Regions from separate parts of the Homo sapiens genome. Here region 1 is linked to region 2. Evidence: promoter capture Hi-C in 16 types of primary human blood cells and fetal thymus (Javierre and others, 2016). All regions are on one chromosome and are shown on one strand. The core of a region is centred on a gene start or on the middle of the fragment in contact, and the rest is flanking DNA. Distances in the headings are between cores, read along the strand shown. Region 1 overlaps DTNB (dystrobrevin beta). Region 2 holds the start of DNMT3A (DNA methyltransferase 3 alpha).

Region 1 (3,972 bases), core at 977-3,476, 300 kb before region 2:
GTATTTTATCTTTTGTGGTACCCAAATCTTGGCTCACTGCAAGCTCCGCCTCCCGGGTTCGTGCCATTCTCCTGCCTCAGCCTCCCGAGTAGCTGGGACTACAGGCGCCCACCACCTCACCCGGCTAATTTTTTGTATTTTTAGTAGAGACGGGGTTTCACCATGTTAGTCAGGATGGTCTTGATCTCCTGACCTTGTGATCCGCCCGCCTCAGCCTCCCAAAGTGCTGGGATTACAGGCATGAGCCACCGCGCCTGGCCAAAAAAAGGCTGGTTTTAAACTGCTGGGCTCAACTGATCCTCCTACCTCAGCCCCCCAAAGTACTGAGATTACAGGTGTGAGCTACTGCATCTGGACTTTGAATTATATTTTAATAAAGCTTTTATATTTAAAAAGAGAAAGTGGGACTGTATAATACAGAGAGAGAGAGGGATAAATATTTTGTGAGAACCAGGTATCCCCTGAGGAAATAATTTTAATCATGACATCAGGAGGAAGGTTGATTGAAGTCAGACTAAGATAAACCTTCACTTTTTGTTCAGTATACAAAAACCAAAAACCTGGAAAAATCCTTCCTTTAACCCCCTCCACCCCCCGCCTCCATACCGTGTAATGAAGACAAATGAGAGATGCCTATAAATACTGATACAAGATAATTTGTGCCAGTTCTCTGTCCCCTTATTGAGTCAAAACTTGCTGCCAAATTTTATAAAGGAAGGATAGGTGAAATCTCACATTGGGGGCCAATCCTATCTACAGTGGTCTTAAAATTCAAGGAGACTTCATTTGCAGCAATTAAAATGAGAACAAAATGTGATTTATAGACTCATGTATAATTTTAGGCTTTGTTCTAGTTACTCTGGCCATATATCGCTTACCCCTCAAACAGTCATTCTATTTATGCGTTTTGTGGGTCTAGACTCAGAACAGCGTTCAGTGCTGACATCTTGACTTTGCTTCATGATGCCTGAGGTCTCAGCAGAAGACTCAAAGGCTTAGGGCTTGAATCATTTGAAGGCTCGCTCGCCTGCGCGTTTGGCAGTCGATGCTGGTTTGGTTGGTGGACTCAGTTCTTCTTCGTACGATCTTCTCACTGTGGCCTCTCCACATCAGTCTGGGCTTTCTCACGGTATGGCATCTGGGCTCCCAGCACAAGCATCCCGGAAGAGCAAGAGCAGAGCAAGCTATGCCGTCTGTTATCATCTATCTCCAGAAGTCCCGCACTGTACTTCTGCCGCATTCTGTGCCGCGAGGCCGTCACAGTGTCCTGGTCAGATTCACATGGAAGGAAAGAATCTCTAGACCTTGATGGAGAGGGACAACATACTAGAAGTACATAAAATACTGTTCTGAAAATATTGTTGTGGCTTTTTTTTTTTTTTGGAAAATACAGGCTGCCACAGACTGGAAGGGGACCTTTCAGGCAACCGGTCCGTTCCCTCATTTCCCAAATGAGGACACTTATGTGCAGAGGCACGCCGCATGGCCACAGCCACGGGGCATGGCCACAGTCGTATTCTGTGGTTGGTCAGGCTGGGACAGGAATGCAGCTTTTCTGACTCTAGGCTTGGGTCTTTCTCACGATGCTGCCCTACTCCCCTTTCCTAATCATAGTTCACTCACTCACCTCATAAGTGTTCCTCCCCCTGGAGTTTTCTCCGATGAGCAGACAGGATATCAGGAGCTAGACTAGCAGAGTTCCTGCACATACTGGAGATGCACGTGTTTCCTATCCTTTTCTCCCTCTGTTGTTGTTTTAATTGACCCACCGTTTTTAAGAAGTCCTAGCTGACTGGTATACTATGACAATACAATAGAATGGAGTCATTTCCTAGCGTTTGGAAACTAAATGGTAAATCTAGTTGAGCATTTCTGTTTGCCTTTTTTCAGGTGCTCAGAATTTTGATGTCATACGACTATCAACTTACAGAACAGCCTGCAAATTACGATTTGTACAAAAACGATGCAACCGTGAGTCATTTCTACTCATTTCTGTGATAGCTGGATAGAGTTCTCAATATTAGAAAAGACTTTAACATCTTTTAGTTGTATTGTAATGTTAATTGAATTATTTTTGTCTTAAGTATTTATTAGTATGTAAGCTTTGTAATGGAAGAACTTGTCATTTTACTTCTTTGTCCTTCAAAATGTTTAACAAACTCAGTCATGTAACTAGTTTTGAGGCTGTTGTAGTATTAATGTTCTTTAAATGGGAGAATGGATTTCTCTGTCACTTTTATTAAGGAAATGCTTTATGTAAAATTAATACAATTTATCAGCTGCTGGAGGAAAAGAAAAACAATGTTTTTGATAAAGGTATAATTGGAATTGATTTTCTTCATTAAGCTTAATGTAACATGAATCAACCTTTTCTATAAATAATTGCTACCATGTGGATCATAAAATAAAGTGTGTGTGTGTCTGTATATATGTATATGTATGTCTGTGTGTGTATATACTTAATCTTTCTTCTCTTTATTTCCATGAAGATGAACTAGCTCGTGACAGAATTATTGTACTTTTCTCGTGTTTGTGTGTATCAGTGGAAAAAGTATTTTATACAATGGAAAGAGCATTAACCTTAGAATTGAAAAACCTTGGTTTTAGTTTTTATTTATTTATTTTTTATTATACTTTAAGTTCTAGGGTACATGTGCACAACGTGCAGGTTTGTTACATATGTATACATGTGCCATGTTGGTGTGCTGCACCCATTAACTCGTCATTTACATTAGGTATATCTCCTAATGCTATCCCTCCCCCTCCTGCCATCCCATGACAGGCCCCGGTGTGTGATATTCCCCTTCCTGTGTCCAAGTGTTCTCATTGTTCAATTCCCACCAGTGAGTGAGAACATGTGGTGTTCACTTTTCTGTCCTTGCGATAGTTTGCTGAGAATGATGACTTCCAGCTTCATCCATGTCCCTACAAAGGACATGAACTCATCCTTTTTTATGGCTGCATAGTATTCCATGGTGTATATGTGCCACATTTTCTTAATCCAGTCTATCATTGATGGGCATTTGAGTTGGTTCCAAGTCTTTGCTGTTGTGAATAGTGCTGCAATAAACATACGTGTGCATGTGTCTTTATAGCAGCCTGATTTATAATCCTTTGGGTATATACCCAGTAATGGGATTGCTGGGTCAAATGGTATTTCTAGTTCTAGATCCTTGAGGAATCGCCACACTGTCTTCCACAATGGTTGAACTAGTTTACAGTCCCACCAGCAGCGTAAAAGTGTTCCTATTTCTCCACATCCTCTCCAGCACCTGTTGTTTCCTGACTTTTTAATGATTGCCATTCTAACTGGCATGAGATGGTATCTCATTGTGGTTTTGATTTGCATTTCTCTCATGGCCAGTGATGATGAGCATTTTTTCATGTGTCTGTTGGCTGCATAAATGTTTTCTTTTGAGAAGTGTCTGTTCATATCCTTCGCCCACTTTTTGATGGGGTTGTTTGATTTTTTCTTGTAAATTTGTTTAAGTTCTTTGTAGATTCTGGATATTAGCCCTTTGTCAGATGGGTAGGTGGCAAAAATTTTCTCCCATTCCGTAGATTGCCTGTTCACTCTGATGGTAGCTTCTTTTGCTGTGCAGAAGCTCTTTAGTTTAATTAGATCCCATTTGTCAATTTTGGATTTTGTTGCCATTGCTTTTGGTGTTTTAGACATGAAGTTCTTGCCCATGCCTGTGTCCTGAATGGTATTGCCTAGGTTTTCTTCTAGGGTTTTTATGGTTTTAGGTCTAACATTTAAGTCTTTAATCCATCTTGAATTAATTTTTGTATAAGGTGTAAGGAAGGGATCCAGTTTCAGCTTTTGACATATGGCTAACCAGTTTTCCCAGTACCATTTATTAAATAGGGAATCCTTTCCCCATTTCTTGTTTTCGTCAGGTTTGTCAAAGATCAGATGGTTGTAGATGTGTGCTATTATTTCTGAGGGCTCTGTTAGACCTGGTTTTGCCA
Region 2 (4,170 bases), core at 48-2,547:
TGTCCTGTGCCAGTCAGGGAGCTCAGGGCACTGTGATATAGCTGAAGTGCTGAGTAGAATTCGGGGTGCAGAGCTGCGGGTGGCTGGTGGGGTGCTGGGGCGCGCAAGGAGGCTGGAGGCGGGGGTGGGGGGGTGCCCAGCCCCAAGTCCTACAGCGGCTGCTGGAGGAGTGAGATGAGCACATAGTGAGTGGCTGTGCTGGTGGAATTAGACAGAGGTGCCCCAAGTCAGGAACCTAGAGCCCTGAGCGCTCCATGGGGAAGGAGAACAGCCCCCACGGTGAAGGGGTGAGGGCGGTGTGTAGGCACACACAGAATCTTCCAGCTGGAAGAGACCTTCAATGTCATTTCATTCAACCTCCCACCTCATGAAATCTTTCAGTCTTCCAGTGCCCAACTGAGGACACCCAACTCTACTTGGACACCTCAAGGTACGGGGAACTCACTCCCTTCAAGGCAGCTCATCTCAGAGAGGCTTTGGAGCCTGCGGGACGGCCAGGAGGAGCCTGGCGCTCCGACCTTGGCCCTGTAGAGCAGAGTGGCCTCTACTCCGCGGCGGCACCTGGCTGGGGGTTGCGGCGCGGTTGGGCCAGCGCTGCTGTCCCCAGCCCCAGTGCTGAGGCAGGCAGAGCGCAGTGGGCTCTGGCGGAGGTCGGGAGAACTGCAGGGCGAAGGCCGCCGGGGGCTCCGCGGGCTGCGGGGGGAGGCACTTGACACCGGCCCGGGGAGAGGAGGGGCCGCTGTCCCTGCGGCCAGTGCTGGATGCGGGGACCCAGCGCAGAAGCAGCGCCAGGTAGCGGGGCGCCCAGCGTGGGGAGGGCTGCGGCGAGGCCCGGAGCTCGGCTACGACTCGAGGGGCTCTGAGTGGCCGGGAGCGCGGCCGAGGCGGGGCGCCCGGGGCCCGGCCCCCGGTCTGGGCGGTGCGGGGTCCAGACCTCCGCCAAGCGGCGTGCGGGGACCCCGGCGGGGCCGCAGAGGCCGGGAAGTCGCGCCGAGGGCGCTAGGACCGGCCGCGCGCCCAGGCCGCTCCCGCCGCGGCGCCCCGGGGCCCCCCAGTCGGCGCTGCCTCCCGGGCCGGCTCCGCAGCGCCGGGGCCGGGGCCAGCGCGGCCGCGGGGGGCGAGCGGCGGGCGGAGGCCTGGGCCCGCGGGCGGCCGGAGGGAGGGAAGGAGGAAGGCGGAGAGAAGGGGTGGGAGGGGGGGACCCGGCGGAGGAGGCGGAGAGAGGGAGCGCGACAGCGAGCGGAGGGAGGGAGCGAGCGAGCGAGGCAGGCAGGCGGGCCGGGAGGGAGGGAGGGCGCGCGGGCGGCGGCGGCGGCGAGAGCAGAGGACGAGCCGGGACGCGGCGCCGCGGCACCAGGGCGCGCAGCCGGGCCGGCCCGACCCCACCGGCCATACGGTAATGAGCGCCGCTGCTGGCGGCCCGGAAGGCCGGCCCGGAGGCGGCGGGGAGCCGGGGAGCCGGGCGGGGGGCGCCGCGGCTGGCAGTGCCCGGCTCGGGGCACGCTCCCGGACCCCTGCAACTCGGCGCCGGGCGCCCGTGGGGCCGGGACTGCAGGCGGGGACGGCGGGCCGGGCTGGCCGGGGCGGCGCGGGGGATTTGAGGGTTTGTTTATGTCCCCGCGGGCTCGGCAGGCGCCCCCTCCCGTCCCGCCCGCTCCCGGCGCGGACCCCCCTCCCCGCCCCCGCCCGGCTCCGGGCTCAAGTTCAAGTCTATACAATGCCGCGGGGGGCCCCTCCACCGCCGGCCTGCGCCGCGGTGCCCGGCTCGCCGCTGCCGCAGGGGCCCCGGCCGGGCCGCCCCCGCCTTCCGGGCTCTGCCCCAGCCCCGCGGCCCCGCCTGGAGCCCGCGGCCAGGGCGCCGGAGGGCGCGGACCCCGACCCAGAAGGATCGGCCCCCGCGGCGGCCCGGGGGAGCGGGGGAGGGGGCGGGGGCCGGGCCCCGCGCAGGCTCCGCGGCGGCGGCAGAAAATGGCAGCCTGGCACGACCCGGCCCCCCGCCCCTCCCCCCGGCGCCCGGCCCTCCTCGGCCCCGCGGGGCGGGGGACCCGGGAGGCCCCCGGGGGCGGGCCGAGGGGTGATGGCGGGGCCGGGCCGGGGAGCGCCGCGCCGCGATCCTCCTCCGGCCACCTGTGGCTGGGGGTGCGGGGCGCCGGCGGGGCCGGGAGGGGCGGCGGGGCCGGGGAGAGCGCCCGCCTTGGGGGCACACCTTCCCCCGGAGTGCCGGCGGCACGGAGAGGGGTGGTCGTGCCCGGCTCCTCCCTGTCCCCACCGCGGGCCGTGGGTGCCCGGGCGGCCGCGGTGGCGGCGCCGCAATGTGGGGGCGGGGCGGGGGCGGGCGAGGATCCCGGGCCCGGGCCCGGGCCGCGGGGGCCGGAAAACGCGGGGGTGGAAGTAGCGGGGCCGGGACCGGGAGCGGCGCAGGGGGGGTACGCCCGGGGTCGCCCCTCCAGCACCCCCGCGCACACTCCCACGCACGCGGACACACTCACGCACACGCACCCCGCCGGGCCGGTGCAGACGTGTCCTTGAAAGCTTCGCATCTGCACAGTGAAGGACGAGGCCTCGCCGCGGCTGCGGAGCGGGGTCTTCGGCCCCACGTCCCCGCACCCCGGGAGACCTCGAGCTTCGGAGCCGCAGGCGGCGGCTGTCCGTGTCCCGCCCTCACCCCAGTTCCCCTCCCCCAGGCCGCCCTGCCTTCCCTCCCCTTCGGCGCGGACCGGGCTGGCGCGGGTCCAGGGCCCGCCCCTGGCCTCCCCCAGCCCCTCATCGCTGGGGCCCGCGGCCCTGGGGCTGCCAAACTGCTTTTCGCTTTCCTGAAGCCTCCCTTCTTGGGGGCACCCTCTCCCACCCCAGCGCCCCTCTGCCATTTCTCCCCCTCTCCTCATCCCCTCCGTCCTGGCACCCTCTCTCCGCTGCACGGCCAGTTGAGGAGGTGTTGGCGCCCTGGGCGGGGAGCAGTGCCCTCTGGTTCCCAGGGGCTGCCTCCCCCGGCTCCTGAGGGGAGCCCCCTGCGGCTGCACCTTGACCCAACATGGCGTCTGGCACCCAGCAGGGCAGCTCTGGCCTGCGGCAGGCGGGAGGGTGGGCAGGGCCGAGCCCCAGGGCCGCGCAGCTACCCCCCCTCCAAACCAGCGGGGACAGAAGCCTTGGGGAGAAGCGCTGTCCGCCCTGTGACCCAACTTGCCCCTCACTGCCGTGCCCAGAGACTGCCATCAGCATCCCTGAGGGCCTGCTCAGTCTTCATGTTTCACCCTAGGCTGCCAGCGGCTGAACCCGCCTCCTGGGCGGGCGGCTACGAAGGGATCCTGGGATCAGGTGCTGCTCCAGTGTCGCCTCCTCCCTCGCGGGCAGATGTGACAGCTGCAGCCAGGGGAGCTATTCGCCTTGCTATTGCCTGGGTGTTAGGACTGGCCTGTGGGATTTGGGGGGCCAGGCATCCCGGGGACCCTCTTTGGTTGGCTAGCAGGGGCCATCTCCAGGTAGTTTTCTGAGCTGCCTGCCTTTGGAGAGTTGGGTTGTAGGGAGTTCCTGCTGGGTTTCTGGGGCAAAATGGTCCCCCTCTGCCTCCAGGTTCTACCGAGGCCCTGCTTGGGCTGTGACAGGTGGCTCTGTCAAGGTGGGAGTCTGTGTGTGCACATGTGCTGGCTCCAGGCGAGGGACCAGGCTGGCCTGTGCAGCAGCTCTGGCACCTGCCTGCCTCCCTGGTGGGTCCCCCTCCTCTGTGCAGCTCCTCCCCAGATAAGCAGCTGCGGATTCAGGCCGACCAAACTTCCCTCGTTACCCCACCCAGGCACCAGTGCCTTCCATAGGAGACTGACCCTAAGAAAGGTGAATTCCTTCTAGACTCAAGGAGTGGACTGGTCCACAGGGCTGCCCTCTGAGTCCTTCCTGGAGAAGCCTAGGAAAGGACGCCAGCAGCCATCTGTCAGGGTGTCTGCGGACAGGATTCCTCTGTGGGGTGGGGGTTGGACTAGAGCCGGAAGGTCCATTCCAGCTTTGACATTCTATGGCTCTGATTCTAGTGGTGGAATTTCAGGCCTAGCAATGGGGACAGGGTGGTCTGTTTTTCGGCACATGGCAGTAATAGGGGAAGGCTTCCAAGGAGAAGGAGATATGAGAGAGATCAGGGCGCCCAGCGAGTTGGGCCTTGGGAAGGAGAGGCAGTGTGAG

Evidence for each region. Contacts are between HindIII fragments. The CHiCAGO score rates a contact against its expected background, and 5 or more counts as called.
Region 1: a contact is called between a fragment that was not itself captured here and the fragment with the promoter of DNMT3A in region 2, in 1 of 17 cell types (M1 macrophages). The highest score is 5.2, in M1 macrophages.

The regions. Positions count from the first base shown.
Region 1 is chr2:25,637,013-25,640,984 of GRCh38, reverse strand. It overlaps DTNB (dystrobrevin beta), which reads left to right. Exons shown (of 21, transcript NM_021907.5): 3 at 1,891-1,971. Among named protein-coding and RNA genes, the nearest start is that of DTNB, 35 kb to the left of the region's middle. The HindIII fragment of the contact is 244 bases long and covers 2,105-2,348 here.
Region 2 is chr2:25,339,052-25,343,221 of GRCh38, reverse strand. It overlaps DNMT3A (DNA methyltransferase 3 alpha), which reads left to right and starts at 1,297. Exons shown (of 23, transcript NM_022552.5): 1 at 1,297-1,396. RefSeq lists an enhancer at 385-504 and silencers at 625-1,104, 1,165-1,374, 1,665-1,834, 1,935-2,174, 2,455-2,574. The HindIII fragment of the contact is 8,821 bases long and covers 1-2,534 here.